Regions from separate parts of the Homo sapiens genome. Here region 1 is linked to region 2. Evidence: promoter capture Hi-C in 16 types of primary human blood cells and fetal thymus (Javierre and others, 2016). All regions are on one chromosome and are shown on one strand. The core of a region is centred on a gene start or on the middle of the fragment in contact, and the rest is flanking DNA. Distances in the headings are between cores, read along the strand shown.

What was found. Contacts are between HindIII fragments. The CHiCAGO score rates a contact against its expected background, and 5 or more counts as called.
Region 1: a contact is called between the fragment with the promoter of GSK3B here and the fragment with the promoter of ANAPC13 in region 2, in 1 of 17 cell types (total B cells). The highest score is 5.7, in total B cells.

Annotation. Positions count from the first base shown.
Region 1 is chr3:120,092,132-120,097,145 of GRCh38, reverse strand. It overlaps GSK3B (glycogen synthase kinase 3 beta), which reads left to right and starts at 2,699. Exons shown (of 11, transcript NM_001146156.2): 1 at 2,699-3,799. The coding sequence starts at 3,712. It overlaps GSK3B-DT (GSK3B divergent transcript), which reads right to left and starts at 2,042. Exons shown (of 3, transcript NR_186629.1): 1 at 1,368-2,042. RefSeq lists enhancers at 1,591-1,910, 2,190-2,484, 2,111-2,520. The HindIII fragment of the contact is 3,897 bases long and covers 2,048-5,014 here.
Region 2 is chr3:134,483,062-134,488,249 of GRCh38, reverse strand. It overlaps ANAPC13 (anaphase promoting complex subunit 13), which reads left to right and starts at 2,265. Exons shown (of 3, transcript NM_015391.4): 1 at 2,265-2,298. It overlaps CEP63 (centrosomal protein 63), which reads right to left and starts at 2,193. Exons shown (of 15, transcript NM_001353108.3): 1 at 2,048-2,193. RefSeq lists enhancers at 1,261-2,079, 2,171-2,280, 2,361-2,460, 2,491-2,610. The HindIII fragment of the contact is 3,493 bases long and covers 2,086-5,188 here.

The sequences.
Region 1 (5,014 bases), core at 1,450-3,949, about 14 Mb after region 2:
CACCATGATGACCAGGCTAGTCTTGAACTCCTAACCTCAGGCGATCCACCTGCCTCGGCCTCCCAAATTGCTGGGATTACAGTCATAAGCCACCACTCCTGGCTTGTCCATAAACTCTTGATCTTGAGCTAACATGATATGCACATTATAAGATACACACAGAAATAAAAAAAGGATTAAAGGTGCACTATTTTAAAGATAAATTTCAACCGGCCCGGTGTGGTGGCTTACGCCTGTAATCCTGACACTCTGTGAGGCTGAGGCAGGCAGATCACCTGAGGTCGGGAGTTCGAGACCAGCCTGACCAACATGAAGAAACCCCGTCTCTACTAAAAATACAAAAGTAGCTGGCATGGTGGCACATGCCTGTGATCCCAACTACTTGGGAGGCTGAGGCAGGAGAATCACTTGAATCGGGGAGGCGGAGGTTGCGGTGAGCCGAGATCGCGCCACTGCACTCCAGCCTGGGCAACAAGAGTGAAACTCCGTCTCAAAAATAAATAAATAAATAAAGATACATTTCAATTATTTAAGGTCCCAAACCATTTTGTTTTCACCCTCCTACTGCTATCGGGCCCCTAACAATTATTAACACTTTTTCCAATGCCTCATTGGCCAAGGGATGTTTTTAGGTTGGCCTGCAGGGTTTGAAAATTTGGTTACCAACATTTAAAAATGCAGAGATTTCACACAAAAATCCAATTTTGGGGTTTCTTTTGGGAGGAAAAAAATTGAACATCTGAGAACACTGGACCCACATTCCTGAGGGCAACAATCTGCTAGAGTTGAGCAGCTGTTCCTTTTAGTTATGGCATGGATATTCCAATTTGCCATTTTCCCTATCATTCCCCATTGTCTTACACAAGGCCAGTCTCACTCATTTGCTTTACTTGTCTGGCCTCTGTAGCCATTTGAATCTGCAAACACTATCTAGACCTTTCCTGTCTTCCATCAAAGCTTACTTTGTTCTGTCCCAAGTCCTTCATCAGTGTTTCAAAGCAAGAGCCAGGTAATCTGATCAAATATAGGTCCTTTAACATGTGCTTTCTGGAGACAGCATCTTAACAGAAAGAGATGACTCTGCAGGTAGAAATTACAGGCACCACTGGATTACAATCAGGATGGCAACTGTCTGTTCTACTTTCTCTGTTATCTTGACGTAGCCATACCTCACTGTTCTAAAGCAGACCAAAGGAACTGGTTCTATGGTAGAACAATGGACGCTGGTCTTATGTATGAAATCTTCTCAAGCTGCACTTTTATAGATCACCCTAGTTCCAAAAGATCCAAAGCTACCACGGGCTCCTCTGACCCCCCCATTTCCTCGGAGGCTTCAGGATATCCGGCCTGACGGCATTTCCCCTCACCTGCTTTCGGGGCCCGTTTTGCGCTGGGCAGTTGCGCCCAAGGAGCGCGCGCATCCAGCATGAGCTCATTTCTCATGGGCGTTTCCAGAGGCCCGGCCGGGCCGCGCACACCAAGCGCAGCAAGCCTCTGTATCAATGGCCCCCGCGGCTGGGCGGGGCGCGGCCGCCCAAAGGCGCTGCCTTTCTGGAAGCTTTGTTCCCATTTTAGCGTCTGAGAGCTTGCAGCCGGCTGGGAAGGCCCCCTTGGTCCGTCTGGCCCTTTCGGGGAAGAGGCCAACACTCGGCACACGCGATCCACGGCAGAGGGGAGCCTTGGGCGCGCAGAATTGGCTGCGCCCCGCCGAGAGCCTCCTGTGGGTGGGGAGAGCCCCTCCACCCCTCTGCTCGCTTGAGCGCTCAGAGCCCAGGGCCGCCGACCGCAGCACTTTCCGATTTGCTGCACCGAGGGCCCGCGGTCCCTGTGTGCGGTTTCCACCGTTGTTGGAGGCGGCCGCAGGCGAACCGTCGGGTCGTCAGCCACGACCCGAGTCAGGCATCTCCCCGCTCCTGGGACCGGGGCCGAAGGCCAATCACACTGCAGCTAGGTCTTGCGATTGGACGGCAGTGAGAGCCGATTGGCCGCCGCCGCGAGTTTCGGGCTCCCTCCCTCTCCCTTTTGCCCCAACTCCAGCGCCTAAGCTTCAGGCCAATGAGACAGCGCTTTATAGACGCCCTCCCTTCGCTTTCTTCTCCCCACCTTGGAGAGGGAGGGGAAGTCCTGACTGGCCAGACTGTCCTCGGAAGCCCCCTTCTCTTCACCAATCACCGAAGGAGGTACGCTCCCAGCGGAGTTTTCCAGCCAATCACAAAGCGGCGGCGGCGCCCAGCCGTGCAGTTTCACCAGCGTCTCTGGGTTTCACCGTCCTCAACTCTTCAAGCCTCTTCGTAAGGGCCGGCGACTCTGATTGGCCACTGTTGCCATTGTCGAATGTCTCCTCCAGCCAGCCACCGAACAAGGCGAATTCACCCTTTCCGTTCGGCTACCTTCGGCATTTTCCGCTCTTTGGGCGTGGCTTCCCAGCGTCACTTTCTAATTGGTTTCTCAGGCTGATCGGCTTTTTCCGGGAGGAGCCGCAAACAAACGACGTCCGTGATTGGCTCCGTTCGGGCTTCGGCTCCCAGCCGAAGCGGGCGAGCGTGGGGCTCGGCCGGCGATTCCCAGACGCCTGTTACGCGGGCGGCGGGGCGCTGGGCGGTGTAAGGCTGGGTGGGGGAGGAAGGAGGTGGAGGACGAGTAGGAGGGGGGAGGAGGAGTGGGGAAGTGCAAGGCGGCTGCGCAGACAGCGCTCCTCACACAGAGCAGCTCCTGACCCGGGCGAATGCGGGCTTGTGCCGCCGCCGCCGCCGCCGCCGCCCGGGCCAAGTGACAAAGGAAGGAAGGAAGCGAGGAGGAGCCGGCCCCGCAGCCGCTGACAGGGCTCTGGGCTGGGGCAAAGCGCGGACACTTCCTGAGCGGGCACCGAGCAGAGCCGAGGGGCGGGAGGGCGGCCGAGCTGTTGCCGCGGACGGGGGAGGGGGCCCCGAGGGACGGAAGCGGTTGCCGGGTTCCCATGTCCCCGGCGAATGGGGAACAGTCGAGGAGCCGCTGCCTGGGGTCTGAAGGGAGCTGCCTCCGCCACCGCCATGGCCGCTGGATCCAGCCGCCGCCTGCAGCTGCTCCTGGCGCAATGAGGAGAGGAGCCGCCGCCACCGCCACCGCCCGCCTCTGACTGACTCGCGACTCCGCCGCCCTCTAGTTCGCCGGGCCCCTGCCGTCAGCCCGCCGGATCCCGCGGCTTGCCGGAGCTGCAGCGTTTCCCGTCGCATCTCCGAGCCACCCCCTCCCTCCCTCTCCCTCCCTCCTACCCATCCCCCTTTCTCTTCAAGCGTGAGACTCGTGATCCTTCCGCCGCTTCCCTTCTTCATTGACTCGGAAAAAAAATCCCCGAGGAAAATATAATATTCGAAGTACTCATTTTCAATCAAGTATTTGCCCCCGTTTCACGTGATACATATTTTTTTAGGATTTGCCCTCTCTTTTCTCTCCTCCCAGGAAAGGGAGGGGAAAGAATTGTATTTTTTCCCAAGTCCTAAATCATCTATATGTTAAATATCCGTGCCGATCTGTCTTGAAGGAGAAATATATCGCTTGTTTTGTTTTTTATAGTATACAAAAGGAGTGAAAAGCCAAGAGGACGAAGTCTTTTTCTTTTTCTTCTGTGGGAGAACTTAATGCTGCATTTATCGTTAACCTAACACCCCAACATAAAGACAAAAGGAAGAAAAGGAGGAAGGAAGGAAAAGGTGATTCGCGAAGAGAGTGATCATGTCAGGGCGGCCCAGAACCACCTCCTTTGCGGAGAGCTGCAAGCCGGTGCAGCAGCCTTCAGCTTTTGGCAGCATGAAAGTTAGCAGTGAGTATTGGTTTTATTTTACACCCCTTTTCCACCTCGCCCTTAAAATAAGAAACCTCGAAATACCAGGATCTGAAATTATTAGACCTCCTGATAAACAGGCAATGGAAAAGGGCAAAACCTATCTTCAGTCAAGGATGAAGCAGCTCCCTTTTTACTCCTCCCATACCCCCTCCCCCGGTCTCATTAACCTTGAATTGAGATAATATGATATTTATTTGGATGATTCGATTTCAAACTGCTTTCTTGTACTTTTCTTGCTGTTGGTAGTCAGTTTCATCAAGTGCTCGAGTGTTTCCACGTTAAAGTAGTGATGACAGTGTTTACTTGCCCATCCTTTAGAATAAAGAGAAGGACAAGATTTGATTACTAAACCATTATGCACATTTGCAGAATTTTTGGAATTTGGAATGAGAGAATATTTTAGGTCTCAGGGGTTATCATAGTTTGATATACTTAATAGAGACGTTAAATGTCCCACCCTCCCAACATTTTTTTCTTGTTTGTATGACTACACATAATATTTGTTCTTAATCTGTGGATGAACTTCCTCAGTAACCATTCACATTTGGAGGCTGCCATTGATTTCTCTCTTTAGAAGGGACTAGTGGGAGCCAATAAATACCTAGCAGCAGTAACATCTCTGTATGCATTTGTGTTCAATTGGATAAGTGGTTTGATGTGTTATCTCTTAACCTTCCTGTTTTGACATTACCAACCTGCCACCGTATAATTTATGTTTAATCAAAAGTTAACTTGGAAGTATTAATAGGTCCAAGTTTTGATTGAGATTTGTTTTGTCATAGTGCCAAATACTAAGTTAAATGTTGTCACTGGCTCATTACATTTAAGTTCAATTTTGGAGTGCTACTGCATTCATTACCTGTTAAATGTTCTGGCGGGTTCCTTAAAAAGGACGATTTAAAACACTCTAGCGTTAGTTTCCATCATATTTAGATAACTGTGGATTTAGTTAGAAGAATGTGGATTTAGTCCTTTCCATTTTGGCTTTTGCAGATGGCTATGGTCCTAGAAATAATAGGGATATTTGGGCTGTGTTCAGGGTTGTGGATAGACTACTCTTGTCCTGGGTTTGTGCTGAAAAGTATGCTCTTGAAGTGTTTAATATATACTAAGTATCTAATGTTCCAGTGTATCTCTATTTATGGAGAAGTTCATGTGGTATTTAATGATAGCTTGTTTAAACATACTTGC
Region 2 (5,188 bases), core at 1,016-3,515:
CATCAGGCATTAGTCAGATTCTTATAAGTGTGCAACCTAGATTCCTTGCATGCGCAGTTTACAATAGGGTTCGTGCCCCTAGGAGAATCTAACCTCACGGCTGATCTGACAGGAGGCAGAGCTCAGGTGGTAGGTAATGCTCACTAGCCTGTCACTCACCTCCTGCTCTGTAGCCTGGTTCCTAACAGGCCACGGACTGGTACTGCTCTGCGGCCCCGGGTTTGGGGGCCCCTGGTTTAGAGGACACAAAGGCAACAGAGATACATGTTAAAGGATACTGTGCGATGCAATCTGCTAAATTTAGAACTGTAAGGAAAAATAGGGGCTAATCCCATAGCTATAACTATGAGGGAACAAATATAGATTAAAAGATGTCAAATGTGCATCACCCAAACACAATAGGCAGATCCCTGTGGGATTTTGGTTCAAACAAGCTAATTGTAAAAAGACATTTAAGAGACAGTTGAAGAAATCGTTATCTGACTGGATATTGACATTAGAGAATTTTTATTAATTTGTGTATGTGTAATGACAGTACTGTGGCTCTGTAAAACTGAAAAACCTAGCTCCTGATGGGGGCGGGGAGGCGGACTAAAATAACATAAAGATCGGAGATTCAGTTCCTGAAACCTTCTGTCAATGTTGGCTTTAGCTGAATTTCAAGTCAAGTTGACATTTTTTGAAAGCAGGAAGCAATGACAGAGTGGACTACTGATGCTGTCACCATCTGCCAGCACAACATAAATTAGAACAGAAAGGACTAAGCAAAGGTCTTCCACCATTTTAACGAGAGGAAATGGCATCAGTACAATCAACATACACAATTTTTACAAACAACTTTTAGATTTGCATCTACATACATTTTAAAAGGCAGTGTGCCTGTTTATAAATCTCTACTCTAATTTAGTTTCAGAGCTTTTTACTACCCTGATCACTGATAATGCCACAGTCAAAAAGCAAACTCAAAATAAAAATCAATCTAAAAATGGTACTGCATGCCAAATAAGAAAATATATACACTTTATCATTAAGCTACAGCTAACAGAAATCTAATCAACGATCCTTATGATTTCCTCGTATCTAAAAAATAAATGCAAGCACTTGAGGAACTGTATAAATACAGGGCATCTACCCTACAATACTGCTTTATTAAAATAATAAATTCTTTTAATAAGTTTAACCAGACATAAGGCTCAGGGAAAACTACTCTGTGCATATCAGCGTACGGTGCTGAAACTGTAAAAGACGACCTGTCTCTGACATCATACTCATCTTTACTCTCCTGATGTCGTAAGGGACGTAAGAAAAACCACATTATAAGCCTAAATGTACTGTCTTCAAGTATCTCCATGATTAAAGTGTTCCTAAGAAACCGTCCTTATTTCTTTCTATCCCTCATTTGTGTGCATGGAGCCGTTAGTTCAGGGTTCTCCAATTTCAGTCCACGATTTATGCCACATTTCCGTACCTCTTGTACTAACATAACCGTTTAAACCAACTCACTATTTTAAAAGCTGCCAACCTTAACATGCCACACTAAATGAGCGGGTCCCCTTGTGCCGTGAATGAAGTAGTCCCAACAGCGCTAGCTAGACAGCAGCCCTGGCAGGGAGGCCGCACTGGGGTCTCTCCGCTGAAAAGGAAGGTGGGTCCGCCGGGGAAGGTGAGTACTGGGCGCAGCTCGCTCGCCCACCTGGCCACTCTCCGAAGCGCCCCCAGCCACCTGGACTCCGAGGAAGGGCTGACCACCTGGCGGGGCCGAACCCCACGCCGGGCTGCGCCACGCCAGACTCCGCCAGTGTGCAGGGCATAGCGGGCCAGGCCGAGGGACTGGGCTTCGGGGCGGACCCAAGCCGGCGGGGACGCGCCTGGTGGTTCGCAGGCCGTTGCGCAAACCGGCCGCAAGCCATGAGGCCGCGAAGCCAGAATCACCAAGGCAGCCTGGGCCGCCTCCAGACCAGGACACGGCAGCCCCTTGCCCCTCCAACTTGCGCACCGGCGGTTACAGGGTTGCCGCAAGCACGCCCCTGAGCCTTCCCGCCGTTACCTCGGGCCGGCGCTGCGCACGCGCGCCACCGCTAAGCTTACGTCCAGCCTCTGTAGTCGGCGCGTTTGTTCCGCCCACTGCCCCCACACTTTTAATAATTGAAACAATGCCTTCTCCAGACTTCCCCTGCACGCGAGCAAATGAACTCACCCACATCCGGGAATCCGAGGAAAGCGAGTGCAGACACGTGATGCGGGGGAGGGGGGGGGGGCGTGGCAGGAGCAAGCGTCTGCCGCGGTGGCCGGGTGCCGGTAAGGGTTTCCAGCGCCCCCGGCCTAGGTTTTGGAGGCGCGGGAATGCGTTCGTTGCTCAGTGTCGGACTTCCCCCTATTCCCATCGGCCGAGGCTGTCACTTTACGCTCATAACCGTTTTTCTTTACTGCACTCGTGTCGGGAGGAAAGGGACTTGCGTGGCACCCCCAGACCTCCCCGTCTCCGCTTCCACGTTTGGTACATCCTGCCTGAGGCAGGAAGCCGCAGCTGAGGGACGGCCTGTCGTACGGTGCGGATGGTGGTGGCCTGCGAGGCTCATTTCTAGCAAGGAACAAGGCTTTCCCGCTTTGATTTTATAAATATTATGTTTACAAAGCTGTAATATATAGAAATTGATAAGACGTGTCCCTGTCCCTGGAAACGCAGGCACCGCGTGTTTGGAAAGACATTCATCTGGGCTGTTTGACAGACTCCCCAGTTGGTGCCATGCTCTGTGCTTAGGGAACTGTGAGACCCCTGGAGGGGTGGGTACCGGGACCGCACTCAGCCTGGGGTTTGGAGGCGGCCTCCTATAGGAAGCGACCTGGGACCTAAGATTTTTAGACTGACTGTGGGTTCACTGGAATAAAAAGGAAGAAACAAAGAGCATTGCAGGCATCGGGACTGTCACGTGAGTAAGAAAAGTTTGTTCAGGAAACAGTGGTCGTACTGGGTGACGAGTACTTGGGACGGTGGCTTTAATACACAAGATAATCAGTGTGCCCTGGGCATTGATTATCTTGATGCTTCCCATCCTTCCAGCCCCTTATGAGGGAAGGCACCTTCGCGCCTAATCCCGGAAATGGGATGTTGACCTTCAAGAGCTGACGCCTGCGTTTATCTTGAAAGGAAGAGTGGCATTAGTGATGTGGAAAAGGGGGTTTTAACTGTCAAGGCTGGAAAATGTGACAGGGTTGGAGGTGTTTGGAGAAGGGACAGGTGAAAAAGATTGAGACCAAATGTGGAAAGATCTACTAAGGAATCATGGGTACAAAATGTACACGTAACAGTTGGAGGCAATAATACCTGAGCAATTGACCACAAAGCTGACCTAGCTTGTTTAGTAGATTAAGTTAGGACAAGAAGCAAGAGTTCAAGGATAGAAGGCCTACTGAAGCTCGAGTGATTTGAGAAAACTTTACAAAGGTGGAAAATCTACGTGGGCCTCCGAAAGTCAGGTTTGGATCAGCTGAGGAAAGTGAGAAGGGTATCCCAGGAGACAGAGCAGCAAGGACAAAGGAGTAGCAGCAGGAAAGTGGGGAGCACTTGTAAGACAGGGACTTCAAAAGTATAACCAAAACTTCGTCTTGCTTTGAGTTATCCACTGGGTAGTACTCGGTTAATTATTGAGTACTGGATTAATTAAGCCCTCACCTGGCTCACCGGTGACAGAAGTAGCAGGGCGCATTTTGCTTAACTTTTGCCGAGATCCTTGTCATGGGGGTGTAAACCCTTTCCCACACCAATCTGTGTATAATTTTTGCCAAGGTGTTAGGGATATCTTGCAGTTATCCTATGGGGGACAGCTGTGAGCCTTTTTGGTTTTTTTTGTTTTTTTTTTTCCGAGACGGAATCTTGCTCTGTCGCCCAGGCTGGAGTGCAGTGGCGCGTGGCGCTATCTCGGCTCACTGCAAGCTCCGCCTCCCAGGTTCACGCCATTCTCCTGCCTCAGCCTCCCGAGTAGCTGGGACTACAGGCGCCTGCCACCATGCTCGGCTAATTTTTTGTATTTTTAGTAGAGACGAGGTTTCACCCTGTTAGCCAGGATGGTGTTGATCTCCTGACCTCGTGATCCGCCCACCTCGGTCTCCCAAAGTGCTGGATTACAGGCGCGAGCCACCGCGCCCGGCCCTGTGAGCCATTTTTACAAAAACTTCCACCTGCCTTGGCCCAAACCTCAGCGTTCTTAGGCACAGGAGCTCATGAACATACTGAGATAACACTAAACTGGACTATGCGAAGGGACCAACTACAGACCTGACACAAATCCTCAAGGCAAGACGATGTCTGAAGTTGAGCTTGTAAAGGAAATGGCTTCCTTCCTTAAAATATCACCCAGGCTGAGCTCTGAAAAAAGCACCTCCAGATGGTGGGTTCCACCCCGCTCCACCACCCCAAAATTGCTTATTGTGTGAGTCTCCATAGTCTCAGAAACTGAGAGTACCTTTGATGCCAGTGGCTTCCGGGCTTTTTGGATTGTCACTTGGTAGCAGGGAGCACCCATAGGATGATGCCTATGATGAGTCAGGGCCCAACCTTGGAAACAGGGAAATCCAGAAGTATCCTACAAGCTAGCCAGCCTTTTGGATTAGATTATAGCAGTTTCAGAGAAAAATGGGGAATCAGCCATGGTCAAGGAGCTAAATAAGCATCGTGACCATTTGGGCCAGAAATTGAAGGGAGTGTAGCGTTAAGAATTAGAGGAAGGAACCTCCGAGGAAGGAGCTACCCCAAAGGGAAGCAGAAACTGGAGAAACTTTAGCAGTATGAGGTTCTACCACTGGTGTTCACCTAGAAGTGCTTTATTCAGATCTCAGCCTGGGTACTATTTTAGGGAAGGAAGCCGTTTCCTTTACAGTATGTTCGTGTGACTCCTGTGCCTAAGAATGCTGAGGTTTGAGCCAGGGGCTAGAAAGGAAACTTAGCTGGCCATTATGAATCAGGGACTCATCAAAGGCATCACAAACAGGAAAAGGTGAATGTTCAAGTTAGAAGAGAAGAGCTACATTGAGATGCAACATATTAATATTTGAGGGCCTCGTTTAACGTGTTGCTCTCCTGTCACACTCTATGACACTGGTCTGTCAGCTGGGCTATGCCTGTCCAGTATACACTATAAAATATGTATCAGTTGGGGTTGGAGAGAGGAACTGTGATCAAAGTAGTCAC